5 separate regions of the Homo sapiens genome follow, and all the other regions are linked to region 1. The links are contacts of gene promoters, found by promoter capture Hi-C in blood cells and fetal thymus (Javierre and others, 2016). All regions are on one chromosome and are shown on one strand. The core of a region is centred on a gene start or on the middle of the fragment in contact, and the rest is flanking DNA. Distances in the headings are between cores, read along the strand shown. Region 1 holds the start of MEIS1-AS3 (MEIS1 antisense RNA 3). Region 2 overlaps LINC01828 (long intergenic non-protein coding RNA 1828). Region 3 has its middle 79 kb from the start of ETAA1. Region 4 has its middle 3.8 kb from the start of ETAA1. Region 5 holds the start of LINC01829 (long intergenic non-protein coding RNA 1829).

The links. Contacts are between HindIII fragments. The CHiCAGO score rates a contact against its expected background, and 5 or more counts as called.
Region 2: a fragment that was not itself captured here is called in contact with the fragment with the promoter of MEIS1-AS3 in region 1 in 1 of 17 cell types (megakaryocytes); the score reaches 8.1 in megakaryocytes.
Region 3: a contact is called between a fragment that was not itself captured here and the fragment with the promoter of MEIS1-AS3 in region 1, in 1 of 17 cell types (endothelial precursors). The highest score is 6.5, in endothelial precursors.
Region 4: a fragment that was not itself captured here is called in contact with the fragment with the promoter of MEIS1-AS3 in region 1 in 1 of 17 cell types (M1 macrophages); the score reaches 6.6 in M1 macrophages.
Region 5: a fragment that was not itself captured here is called in contact with the fragment with the promoter of MEIS1-AS3 in region 1 in 1 of 17 cell types (megakaryocytes); the score reaches 13.3 in megakaryocytes.

The regions. Positions count from the first base shown.
Region 1 is chr2:66,432,067-66,434,766 of GRCh38, reverse strand. MEIS1-AS3 (MEIS1 antisense RNA 3) reads left to right here and starts at 1,297. Exons shown (of 4, transcript NR_046438.2): 1 at 1,297-1,476. RefSeq lists enhancers at 1-246, 1,116-1,468 and a silencer at 491-590. The HindIII fragment of the contact is 5,363 bases long and covers 972-2,700 here.
Region 2 is chr2:67,233,660-67,236,359 of GRCh38, reverse strand. The region is part of intron 1 of LINC01828 (long intergenic non-protein coding RNA 1828); the gene reads right to left. The region is part of intron 2 of LOC101927661 (a long non-coding RNA gene); the gene reads right to left. Among named protein-coding and RNA genes, the nearest start is that of LINC01829, 20 kb to the right of the region's middle. RefSeq lists an enhancer at 1-919. The HindIII fragment of the contact is 1,620 bases long and covers 529-2,148 here.
Region 3 is chr2:67,317,306-67,320,005 of GRCh38, reverse strand. No RefSeq gene overlaps it. Among named protein-coding and RNA genes, the nearest start is that of ETAA1, 79 kb to the left of the region's middle. The HindIII fragment of the contact is 3,146 bases long and covers 1-2,700 here.
Region 4 is chr2:67,392,161-67,394,860 of GRCh38, reverse strand. No RefSeq gene overlaps it. Among named protein-coding and RNA genes, the nearest start is that of ETAA1, 3.8 kb to the left of the region's middle. The HindIII fragment of the contact is 1,937 bases long and covers 285-2,221 here.
Region 5 is chr2:67,214,528-67,217,227 of GRCh38, reverse strand. The region is part of intron 1 of LINC01828 (long intergenic non-protein coding RNA 1828); the gene reads right to left. LINC01829 (long intergenic non-protein coding RNA 1829) reads left to right here and starts at 1,909. Exons shown (of 8, transcript NR_038844.1): 1 at 1,909-2,000. All of the region lies in intron 1 of LOC101927661 (a long non-coding RNA gene), which reads right to left. The HindIII fragment of the contact is 6,157 bases long and covers 1-2,700 here.

The sequences.
Region 1 (2,700 bases), core at 48-2,547:
TGACTTTCCTCGAAATTATTGGGGTCTGCCAGTGTTTTTCGGGGCAGGGGGTGATGCGCAAAGTACTGAATTCTCAGAACTAAACACTGCAAGGAGAAAAGTCAAAGCGGGATCGTGGAGGAAAAGGAGGGAGAAGCCAGGTTGGGAAAGCCTCTGCTAAGGAGTCCTGAGAACATGGGGTTGAGGTGGCTCGGGCTTTCTGCAGACCCAGCTTAGAGGTTTCTTTGCTGTTAGAGGTGGACGCCCGGCCGGGGGAAAGAAAATGCTAGCATTTTGTCACTTCGGGTCTGGACTCCCCCACCTCCTAGCCCCGGCGGCTCCCAGCCCCAGCCCAGGCGTCCTGCGCGAAGTAGAGAGGAAGGGAGGGAACAATGAGCTGAGCGCGGGGAATGTGCCCCCAGCGCCTGTTTACAAACACCAAGCTATTTATGATCGTCGGAAAGCGAAACCCGGCGCGGGCTCGCAGCAGCCCAGACCTCGCGGGCGGAGCCGGGGCCGGGGAGCCGCTGGGAGGGAGGCTCTTTCTCCGACCCGCTCGGGGTGAGGCGGCCGTGCGCCCAGGGCGCGGCGCGGCGCGGCGCGACGCTGCCGGAGTGCTAGGCTCCGGCTGCAGCCACCGCTGCCTTTGTCTTAGAGGCGCCGAGGGGCTCCAGCCTCGACCTCTCCCGGGCCTGTAAGAACCTCGCGCCCCACTAGCTCTTTCTCCAGCGAAGCCCTGCCCTCACCACCCCAGACATCCTTCCCCGCGCTCCTCTTTCCCGTCCCCAACCCGGCTCGGCGAAACCTCCCAGTGCCAGAGAAAAAGAAATCCGCTTCGGAAGCTGAGATTTCAGACAAAAGCTGCCTGTACCTACAACTCGGAGGCTCCAACCAACCACTGTTTTTTGTTTTGTTTTGTTTTTAACTTTAACACCTATTGCCTGGGCTTTAATTCCCCCTCACCCCTTCTCTTTATTCTCCCGCTCTAAGCTTCTCCCTTGTGATTATATTTAGTGGCGTTATTTTCGTATTTATATTTCTGTCCGCTGGGCTCTGATCTGCCGAGATGGCTCAGCCGCAGCAGCTCTACCAGTGGCTGGAAACCTCACATCCACAAGCAGGGCTCGCAGCTCGCTCGGCTCCGAGAGGATTTTTCCCCCTCCCTCCAGCTGAAACCTCGCAGAAAACTCCCCCTGCGGTCGACTGGAAAATGAGCTCACCCAAATCTCGGTAGGCAGCCGTGGAGGAGTGCTCGGCCAATCAGGAGGCGCCCCCGCCCAGGCCGCCGCGCATTGGCTGCGGGGAAAATCAATTATCAAATAATCGATCAGCAGGGAGCTTCGATCTGCGGGGAATGCGAACTGCCAGTCCCTATTCCCGCCCTGAAGGTGGCCAAAAGGCTGACTCCCTCCAAGCAGCCCGCCCGCGCCTCCATCGCCCCCACCCACGTCCCACTCGCCAGCTGCGGACTGAACCCTCACCCTCAAGGGGGTGTAGGTAGGGAAAGAGTTTTGAGCAAGATTGGGGGTATCCCTTCATCCGAAGATTGTTTGGGAAAGGTTAGGAGCTCTAAAATGTATTGAAGCCAACTCTTAAGCGCAAAGTAAAAGATAATTTGCGTCCGTCTGCGAGGTAGGACTGAAGATTCTATAGAGTGGGCTTCCGAGGAGCAGGAGACACAGGGCGAGCATGAGAACATAGGTCTGGAATGAGGTTCCACCGAGCGTCCGTAGTCTCCTTAGGCGACATCTATCGCTTCCTTTAGCACTTCGCAGGAGTCAACGCGGGGTTGGTTGCCCCCAACAGTGGAGCGTTTCCATAAAGCCGAGCAGATGAGCCTTCCCAGCCGCCTGCACTGCACCCTTCCCCGCCCCCAACTCCGTACTGGCACCCTGTGTGCCTGAAGGGCTGACACACGTTCTCCCAAAACCTTCAGAAGCGCTTTGCCTTGAAAGAGCTCTCCCTCGTGTGTGTGTGTGTGTGTGTGTGTGTGTGTGTGTGTGTGTGTGTGTGTGTGTGTTTAAACCATCTCCAGGATCCCTTATCATTTGCTTCCTCTCTCCTTTTTCTCTCTGTTTCTCCCTGTCTTTTTTCTGACGCTTAAGTTTCAGGATCTTTTAGTTTTTTTCCATCACATACATGTGTAGGTTTTCTGGTACAAACGCCCTGAAACATCACTTGGGAGGTTAAGACAGGCCCGCGAGTAAAAGCTGGGGACGGAGTGGGTGGGCAGCCAGGTGCATTACCAGCGCCTTTATGCCTCTGCCTACACTTCCCGGCCTCCCCCCATCCCCCCACCCCCCCACCCCACGCCTCACCGTCGCTCCCCGGCCCCACAACATGAACTTGGAAGCAGAATTTCAGGCCAAGATGGAACCTCCCCGTCTCAGGAAGGCGATTTCTGTTTAATCCTTGGGAGGCTGCGCTGGCTGGGCCAGGCAGCACGCTCCTTTTCCGATTAGGGAAAGGACTAAGCTGGGCCGGCAGTCTGCGACCCCTTCCCGGAACCCCAGCCGACTTCGGGGTATACCTGAGCGCCTTCCGATGGCTGCTCGCGGGGGTGTGATCATCGTCCCCGCATCAGGCCCGCCAGGCATCTGCGCGACTCGGGGGTAGGAGGGAGATGCGTGGGTGGGAGGTGGGGGTCAAACCAAACACCGACAGGGCACACCTACGTTTATGATCCTTAAATGAACTGCGAGGGAAATTGTGTAAGTATAA
Region 2 (2,700 bases), core at 89-2,588, 800 kb before region 1:
CAGAATCCCACACTGTTGCAATGCTGTCTTCAATTCAGCCACTTCATATTGAAATTTCACACACAATAATTGGCTGACCTTCACAGCTATGGCAGAAACTAATTAAAGCTGTAAGGCTGTGCTAGCATTGCTTTTGTGTGAAATGTGAAGTTTGGTGATAATGAAATATGGGGTGCAGATGTTATTGTCTTAGATAGACCGTGCCCTTGGTTCACACTAATGAAGAACAGCAATTATTAAACAAAAAGTATTTTTTACTCATTAATTATTTTGTGTTGTGAAAGTAGAAGTACAAACACAGCACCACCTCTTCTACCAGCTAATCCCCAAAGTAATTTTATGGACTTTACCAGCTGACTTCTATATCATTAGGTATCCAGTTTTCACTTTCTCCCCCTACTGCTCTTAGACCTTTGGGAGCCTTAAGCAAGGACCTGGATGGGTTCAGAGAGCAAAGGGTAAAGGGCATGCTAAAAATGGTCACCCATAAAGATTTTTAGACAGCTGGAGGATTAAATGAATGAAGCTTTTTGGAAATAACTTCACACACCAAACAGAGATGTTGGTAGAAATATGATGCCATCCACATTGTTGTCGGATGATAGGCAAAGGTCACTGCTGCTCTTGAGGTGCAAGTAGAGAAATGAAGCAGGCCTGAGCTCTGTTTCTTGGTTGTTTGGAGTCTGGGTTTCTATTAATAGGTCAGTGTGACTTGCAGGACTTCCACTGGGTCAAATATAACAAATCACAGATTTGTAACAATTAAAGGAAAACACTAAAAAGGCACATTGTATTGGCAAGTCTTCACTTTCCATGGGCGAATGATCTAGTCTGCTTCTCTTTAGTCCTCTTCTCATTGACTATATTTTAAAATTTAAGTTATTTTTTTTTCCTCATTGACTTTGGGATACTCAATTCTTATTAACTGGCTGAGGTGGGAGAGACATGAATTAAACTTAAATTGTCCAATTTCCCTATTTGGGGAAGGAGAGTGAAATGATTAAGTTTAACTGTTACTTGTGTAATTTTTACTGTCATTCATACCCCGTACCATGAGCATGCAGGTAGCGACTGCATAGGGCACTGTATCAAGGCCTTGTCTAAGAGGTGTCAGCTAGTAAAATGCAGCAATGATGAAGATGGGAAGTGGCAGAAGCAGCAGTAGGTAGGTGGGCATCAACTGGATCATGTTACTTCAGACTAGGCAGGGGAACAAAGGCTTGAGAGGAGGAAGATTTGTGGTCATGGAGATACCATGTAGGGGGAGGTTTGCCATAGAGGTTAGAGGAGGTAGCTTTGGGCTCCATTTTCTTAATGGTTGTGCCAGTTGTCAATATACCTTAGTCTCTGGGTAATGGGATACTTAGTGGGACTATGACTGAATTTGAGGAGTAATTAATATGGCTAATGATGGTTATAATGACTGTTGGCATTCTATGTCTCTTCATTTTGGGGAAAGGATAAGAACATCTTCCCTTATATGAAGGATAGCTATACATTGTTAGGTGGAAACAGACTTGCATGGTTGTTGTAAAGAAGTTCATTTGCGTGCAGATGGGTGCACATAGAAGCTCAGTGACCAAAGGGGTGGACTATGTCAGTTATTAGGCTATTGCCTCTCACTTCCTAATCTACGCTTCATTGCCCTGCTTTTGATAGTGGGACATTTCTCCCTTGCCAGCTTGCACAATGTTCCCTTTTTGCAGTAGAGGGCACTGGAGGGACACTGGAGGAGGAAAGGGCTGTTCTTTCTGGTTTCTGTGTGTTTTCTGGTTACTTCTGTAGTATAAGGTAGGCAGCATTCACAGGACACCAGCAGGGTTCAGAGGCAGCACATTTCATGAGTATCTCCCCATTAGCAGCTTTTCCCCAGCAACGCAGAGGGCAGCTTTTTAGATGTTCCACTATTATGGGAAACTGGCCTGCCATTCAGTGAGCCATGAATGATCAAGTCCTCTCCAAGGGAGACTGGGTCTCACTGAGACCTTGAAGGAGGCAGGGCTTCACTGGGTCCTCTGCCTCAAACCTAGAGGTAGTGGCTGCTCCCTCTCTGTGCTATTTCTGTAATCTTACCCCAAATAGGTAAGAATTACCTACTCCTAAGATGGCAATCCACTCTTGTAGTTAATAATCCTTTTTCACTAAGCTTTCCTTGTTCACATTGCTATGTGGCTTCTGTCTCCTGATTGGAACCTGACTGATTCAGTGACCCTCCCATCTTCACTTCAATGACTTAAAAAAGAAGTAAATTAATTTGTTTATTATCATGACTGATTGAGTTAAATATAAAAGGCTAGGCAAGAAGGTATTGGTAATAGCAGAAAGGTGACAGAATATAATTGAAGCAATTGTCAGCTTTCAGAAGAAATAGATATGAATTAAAAGATTACAACCCTATGCAATTTTCAGTGTAAAGAATAATGAAAGAATGAACAAAAACTCTTAACTTTACCATATATCAAATAAAGCAGTAAATTAGACTGAAAATATAGAAAATATAAAAATGTGGTCACATTGTTCCATGTTAAAATGTACAGAGTACCCACTTAGAGATTACAAAAGGCCTGTAGTGTTAAATCCTTTGGGCTAAGACATGAAACATCAGCTTTGGAGTGGTCTTGGCTTACAGTGTAGAGGGAAGCATTAGATCATCTCACTCTCAGGAACTGGTTTCACCCCTATTACCACTCATCCAGAATG
Region 3 (2,700 bases), core at 120-2,619, 890 kb before region 1:
ATTGAAATGGATTTTTTACCCTCTTTTCATACTTTTATTATGTTGTCATGCAATTTAAAATGCATTTTAAAATTTCAAAATTATTATCAGTAATCAATTTATACTTTTTCTTTAGATGTCATAAATAATCACCATAGATTTTTGAGGGGAAAAATTAGACAACTCCAATTTCCAAAGATGTTAATTTTAAAACCAGTATCCCAACGTGTGGTTTTAGTATTCAAACCTAATTTGATTTCTATGGAATCATAGTGCACTTATATTTTATTAAATAATAATTCCCTCTTTTATTAAAAAAATCCTGCTTATTATATTTAACTCTAAACGACAGCTTTTTCGCCTCTCAGTTCTCAAAAACCCTGAGCAGCCATTTCAGAAAACAAAACAAAAGAAAACCCCACATATCAAAACACCACAAAACCCTCTCATTAAGCTCTCTGCAAAGTTTGAGATGTACTTTCATGTGAATCTTGGCCTCTGTACAGCACTGCTGCACAATCATTTTCATCTGAGATTTGAACATATTGGAAGAACTAGAGCCTTCCTTTCTTTTATCCTGTCATTTCCCCCGCTGGAAGTGATGGGCATATGGCAGGCACCCTCCCTAGATTCTCAAACAACAGGAGGGACCTGATTTCAATTCCTACATCCTGTCATCAGTGACTCTCGGGATATTTTGTTCTTGCAAGGCTAAGGATGTGATTCGAATTTGCCATACGGACAGAGCTTAATGCGATGCCATTTTTACCACTGGCGCCCTCAATCAGTTAATTAAACATGATATAAATCACCACATGTATTTGTTAAGTAAGATTAATATGGCAAAGTCAAAGTAAAAAATGAGGAATCCTCCCCATCCTAGGAGTGTGAATCACTGATAGGAAGATTACACTTTTGGAAACTCAATACTTTTGAGCAGGCTTTGTTGGTTTAATCCCTCAGACTGCTTTGTGCAACTTGAAACCTAGAGCTGTCATCTTTAGCCAAAATTTCAGCCATAACTTCCTCAGCTTTCACCCCATTATTGAAATCAGCATTCACAATACTTAACAAAGATCAAACCTTTCAGCGGACCACGGGGCAGCCTCTTACCACCTGGGACACCAGAAACATGTTTAATAAATATTTCATTTTGTTTTAACATGAAGACTCCCTGGTTTCAATTTTTTTTTTCTTTCCTGGGGAGCTAAGGGCTACCACCAAGCTGCACATTCCGTCACTATGGTCAGTTAGGTTTATAGCCTTAATAAAAGGATTTGCCCCCCTTCACATGCTAGGGAGCCTTGTTAAACCACAGCAATTATAGAAACACAAGATAGGTGCTCTGCAAAGATCAAAGCTCACTTAAAGACAGCTCTGTAGGAATTTGGAGCTCTCTTTGAAAAGTGCTCAGTTTACAAAGTATAGAGGTATTAAACCCTAGGAATTAAAAACTTATTTTAGAATAATGTTTAAAGTCTGACAGTAGTTAATATGGGATCTCCTTCAGTCACTCTTTGTGTATTATTTCTAATATCTATTCACGGCATACCTATAATAGCTCCAAAGGAACCATTACGCTCAGAAGACATACGCATATGATGGATCCTTAATACCAAATGCATTACCTACTCAGTAGGTACATTTTAACCTCAATATCCCAGCTCAGGGACAGGGTAGAAAAATAGCATGTAAATTTCTTTAGGAGGAAAAAAATGCAGCATGCCTGGGTCTTCAGCTTTGTGGCTCAGTGGAATCCCTAGAGGCTGCTTTCCATGCAGGAGGGATAGGTGATGGCCTGTGCTGGGCTGCACCAGGTCACTTTAGCATCTGGCCTTTGGGGCTGCCGCACAACTCACCCAACTCTAATTGGATGTTGAAGTACCCAGTCTTAAGCATTGTAATGTTTCCTCTACCTCTGTAGATTGTATCATTCATCCAGAAACACATACACACACACACACACACACACACACACACACACAGAGTAATGCATGTGGACTCCATTTCAGAAAAAGAATGCTAAACCCCGAGTGGCCTAAACTTAATTGTGTGGCTATGGGAGCTTTCGGGTGACAAAGGGTCTGCAAGCCAAATAATTACTTTTGTGTGCAGCATCTTACAACAGGGCAGTATAAATGGGCTTAGCCTGGGATTTTGAACTCTGTGCTTCAGCCTCGGAAAATGAGTTATTTAAAAGCAGCTATTGCCAGGAACATTTTAATATCTATTTAGAGAAAACTATTTGGGGTTTTTGGTGTCCAGGAGTCTTTAGCTTTGAAACATGTAGGTATAAATGCAAACCCCTCATTTCACGTCAGCATATCCATTTTAAATAAAAGGTTGTAATGATGATAAAAATAAGAGCTAATATTTGTTGACTGCTTGCTATTTGCCAGGCTGTATGCCCAGTACGTTACATGGAGTATTACATTTAATCTTCATGACAACCCTATGAGATAGGTTCTATTATCGTATTTATTTTCTAGACGAGGAGACTGTGGCTCAGAGGGGCAAAGATCACATCACTAGTAAGAGGTGGGGTTGTGATTTTAATCTGGGTTATATGACCCTAGAAGCCACGCTTTTACAGCCTGTTACTATCTGATTTGAAGTTTATTTTGTGCTGTGATCTAAAGTTTCTATTTTATGGTTTCTTTTTATTTAGCTGTAACTTTTAAGAGAATTCTAATCCTTGAAAATAAAGGTAACAGAGTCTAT
Region 4 (2,700 bases), core at 4-2,503, 960 kb before region 1:
GAAAAATGCTTTTAGCAGTAAAATTCAATTCAAAATTACTTCATACTGTAAGTGGACCAAATGCTTTCCAACAGTAGAATGATAAATATATTGAACTATATTCACACAACAAAATAGCAATGAAAATGAAAACTACAACTCTGTGCGACAACATGGATAAATCTGACAAACATAAAGTTGAGCAAAAAAAAGCTAGACCTCCCAACCCTCCTCCATAATGTTAAATAAATCCCATATAAATTCCATCAGGCAAAGTTCTACTATATTGTATAGGGATGTAAGCTTTAGTGTTAAAATGATAAAGAAAAATCTAGGAATGATTACCATAAAGGTCAGGATAATAGTTACCTTCGGGAGGGGGAAGGGACAGTGATTAGAAGTGGACAGAGGGAGGAGAGAATTTCATGTATTTATTGGCTTTGTTTATTTTCATGTTCTAGTTGTTAATTACAAAAGTATTTGCTTTGTGGTAATCTACTGAGCTGTACATTTTGTTCATTTTCTACACACATGTTATATTTATCAATTAAAATGTTTAAAATGTTAATGTAAGGCAAAGATCTTAGTTCCTACTGAGGAGCTGATATATTTCTTCTATCTTGTAAACTATTCTGTTTTTACTCTTTAATTTTGCTGACAGAAATCCTAGAACTAAATTTGAGATTCAGGGCTAGCAGTTATATAAACCATATAAACCGTTGTGAATAGATAATTCCATTATTTTTCCTCAGTGTTTGACCTTCTACTAATACTTTTTCTTTCCATGATTGTTTTTTACCTACATGTATTTAAACCATTGTTTAGTTTTATTTATTTATAACCGGATAAGACTGGAATACAAGTGATATTACATCTTTTAAAATTCAAATTAATTACTTGAACCTTCACTTGTATAAATTAGCAGGAATATTACTATTTCTCTCAGAGATCTCTCCTACCTCTCAAATGACCAAAAATCCTAGAAGCATTAAAAAAAATGTAAAAAGAACTTAATTTACCAAATAAATATCCAACTCACATTTAGAAAGTAATTAAGGAAGTTTAAAGAATTTAGTGATGTTTATAAGAGAAATAACCATGTAGTAATCCTTTAAAGCATATTAATGCTGCAAATAAAATAACAGTGAATACTTTACCATAACTCCAAATTCTATAGTGCCCAAGTAACCATTGCTGAAATGAACAACTTGAGCCTAAAGTACAGACGTGTTGTCTTAACACACCTAGGATGGCTGTAACCTGTAATCATTATGGGGTAGGAAATTATAGTAAATTTTAACTTGAAAATTACTTACTTTACATAATCTGTTACATTTCTAAGTGTACTTCAAATTAAATTTACTTCCTGACTATAGCTCCTGAAATAAGTATAACACAATTAACTCCTTAATAAAATGTTTTTAATGTGAAACAAAAGTCTTACAGATGTTTGAATGCAATATGATTCATAGCTCAGCATTTCTAGGCATTTGAATAATTTATACATATAAGTAAGGTTTACTGCAACTAAAAACTGTAATAAACCAAAGTGAAACTCTTGCTTGTTTCACTTACAGGGATTATTTATAAACTTGACAATAATTATTAAGGCAAAAATTGTGACACTGAAGGTCTGAGTTACTAAGGAGCTTCTCTGCCAGTGATTGCCTCCTCACTTACATTACAACGATGGGTCAATGCTACTGATCAATGGCTAACTGTGAGCAGTCTTCCTTTCAAGAAAAAAAAATCCATAATTATGTGAATTATGTTTGTGTTTTATATACAGAGCTCCAGCTCCAAATCTGTGAGAGTGCATTTGGCAGAATCTGAACAAGCAACACAATGATTAGAGGGTTTTTGTTTTTTTGTTTGTTTTTAACAGTTTTGTTACAATGTTTCCACCCCAAAATGTACCTGGGTAAGTGCTGGGCCCATTTTTCCTTATTCCTGACATAGCTGCAATTGTATTAGCTAGAACCACCTATTATGCCTAGCTGCTCCATCAGGAGCCTCTGCTGCCTAGGTGACCATGTCTGGCCAGACGGGCCCAATCGGGTAAAAATGACTGGACTAGACATGGGCACCTGATTTTAGGAACCAGTCCATAGCCAGCTTCTCCACCTCTGACTGACACAAAAAGATGCATTGAGACAATCCTATTCTTTCTTGGAGATTTGAACTAAGAATTTGCTAGAGGGCCCTGTGCAAAACCATGGTGGGCAGAAACTACGAAGAAGCTTGCTCAAAGTGGAACTGAAGGAAGTAGCAGAATTATGCAGACTGGGGACCACTGGAATCAACATCTGTTGACTCTGGATACCTTGAAACCCAACCACCATTCAGCTTCAATGTCCGTAAGACCAGATTTTACTGTGATACCAGTCCTTTTTTCTTTCAATGTGAGCCTTTACAGTAAACTTCCTTTGTTAGGTAGGGGCTAGCTAATGCCAGTTGGTCTCTATTTCTTACATCTAAAAAGAAACCTGAACTAAAACATAGAACAAACACCAGAATTGGGTCAAGGGTTGTAGTCTTATTGTTTCTCAATTAAAAGAATATTATTTTTAAAAGTTCAAAATAGAATGAAACAAAATCCCATTTAAATATGGAGCTGGAAGTTAAAATATTTTAGTGACTCCTTTGGACCTGAGACAAATTATACTGGAGACTAGCTGTCATCTGAAATCACTTTTTCTTAAGTTTTTTTGGTTCAATTAT
Region 5 (2,700 bases), core at 159-2,658, 780 kb before region 1:
CCAGATAGCAAGAGTTAGAGAAGAGAAATCACTCAATTTGCTGAGCAGGCATAGAGATTAAAGTACTGAGTATCATCTGGAAGAACTTGGTGGGAAGGCTGGCATGCTTCTCCCATTGAGGGAGGGGGCAGGGTTACTTGAATTCAGTTAAGAGCTTCCTAGGCTTATCAGGGATAGGCTTATCTCTTTGTTCCTCCCTCCCCCCACCCTCATCCTGCCATTTCACCCAACCTTGGTAAACAATCTGAACATGACTATTATAAGGCTACACCCAGACAACAGTAATTGACAAAGGGATCATTAAGGAAAAAATAGGATTAGAGTGAAGGCTTTTGAAAAAGCATTAATTTGTATCCTGCATTCTCACTCACTGACAACTCTGTTAACTAATAAGAAAGGAAAATCTCAAGTCAGTTCCTTCCTACACTGTCACCCTTGTCTTTTCTCTCATTTGCTTAAGGTATCAAGTAGAGTCAACTTCAGCTGGAAATAGTGTAGGGCTTATTCTAGGCCACAACATGGGAGCAAAACAACCAGAGATTTAGCCAAATCCTAATTTATTTACCCCATTCTGACAGAGAGAAATGTTTGTTTATTTCTGAGGCTGTGCTATGATGTGCAGTTCAAGTGCTCTGACACTTTAACGCACCATGCAAGGTTAGCAGCCTGTTCACCCTTTATTAATTTGTTGGTGAATATATTTGGATTTTCACTTCATGCCAATAAATGCAAGAAGGGATGCAGTTTTGACATTGTTTCTTTACCCTTACACTCCATGTAAACCAAAAGTTGTCTATCTGGCAGCTTAGTGGCTATATGTAAAGCCCCTGTTTACTTAATCTGAAGGTCCGTTTCATTTCTGCTTGGTTTGCAAAATAAATGAAATGAACGAGTGTGTCAGAATTAGAATTGTGAGAGTCTGAAAAAGACATTTGGGTCACTGAGTGACTAAAAGCACTCTCTGTTTACATGTTTCTTCAGTTTCTGTCGCTGCAGCTGTGTCACAGCTTATAACAACTAATCCCTTTTTATTTACATTTTACTTTATTTTGTATTAAAGGCACTATTAAGCCACGTCTTCCAAATGTGTCTGAGGTTTCATAACTATCTTAATAGTGTATACACATTACAGTTATGGCAGAGAACTTCCTCCAAGTCTGGGTTTTGTTAAGAGTGACTTTAAGAATAATAGTTTATAGGACAATTAAAACGTGTTAATCTATATTTGAAAACTTGATCTGGTTAAAAATCGGTTCCCCGTCCGCTTATATTTGCCAGTTTTCTACATCATGTAGCTGGGGTTTTCCTGAGAGGTGGAAAGAGTGGGTTGTGGGAAGAGATGGCTGGAGAAAGCCTGGGAGCTAAGCTGATTTTAGGCCTTTGGGCTGAGGTCCTGTTAACATAACCTATGTTCTGCTTCAGGGGAAAATGACGCACGGAAGGTTGGAAATGGGGTTTGAGCGAGCACACTTTTCATGCTCAACAAAGCCTAACATCATTTTACTATACGATTTGAGTTATGTGCATGCTTTTAATAAACTGATCCTCACAAAAAATAAATAGATTTGTTCTGCTTAAACTGGCATACAAAGGGCTCAGAGGAAAAAAACTCTTTAACAAACACCTCTTGGGGATTGGAAGGTAACTTCACACTCCAGCTTCACGTTGGGAACGTGTGATAACAATTTGACAGGAAGTAAGTGGATTCTGTCCCAAGCCTTGGGAATAGACTTGACCCTGAGCATAATGTGTGAGTCTGAGGCCAAGAGCTTCCCGCCCAGCAGGGGGTAGCCAAGCGCCGATGACTGGGCAGGAATTCAACCCCATAGGTTCCCATCTCTTCCCACCGCCCGTCAGCAACACAGCTCTCCCTTTCTAGAAACAGGGTTTCCCCTCCAGGCTTGGATTCTTAAATCTAAAAAGAGCCTCTCACCTGAGGCCTTCACCTGAGAGCTGGAGCCTGTGCGATGGATTATCTGGACAGGGACCCCAATGAACAGGTGGAAAAGTACATTTATCTGCCTAAGGCTTGGAATGAAAATTGGGGGTGGGGTGGGTAGAGGCAGATTTTACTCTTCTTCAGATTCTTTTCTCTGTCTCCCAGTGGGCACAGGCTGAGCCTTGCGGGGATAGAAGAGAGATAGAGAGGTTAGGCCCTGGTTCTCTGTGTAGGGTGGTATGCATGTGTGTGTGGAGGGATATGGGTGTGAGTGTGCTGTGTATATGTGTGGAAAGCGTGTGTGTAGGTGTGTTAGAAGCGTGTGTGGGTGAATATGTGTGTGGGGTGGTGGGGAGTGTGTGTGTGGGGGTGAATATGTGTGTGTGGGGTGGTGGGGAGTGTGTGTATGGGTGTGTGTGGGGGAATGTGGGTGTGTGGATGTGTGTGTGGGTAGGGAGTGTGTGTGTATGGGGTTGTGTATATGTGGGGGAAATGTGTGTATGGGTGTGTGGGTATGTATGTGTTTACGGTGAATATGTGTGTGAGGAGAGTAAGTGCATGTATGAGTATGTGTGTCTGTATGTGGGTATATGTGTGGGGTATGTGTGTGTGGGGTTTGTGTTTTGGGGGGGTGTATGTGGGTGTGTATATGTGGGTATGTATGTGGGGTGTGTGGGTGTGTATGTGTCGGGGGGAAGTATGTGGGTACGTGTGGGGGGATGTATGTGCGTATGTGTGTGGGGTGTGTGGATGTGGGTGTG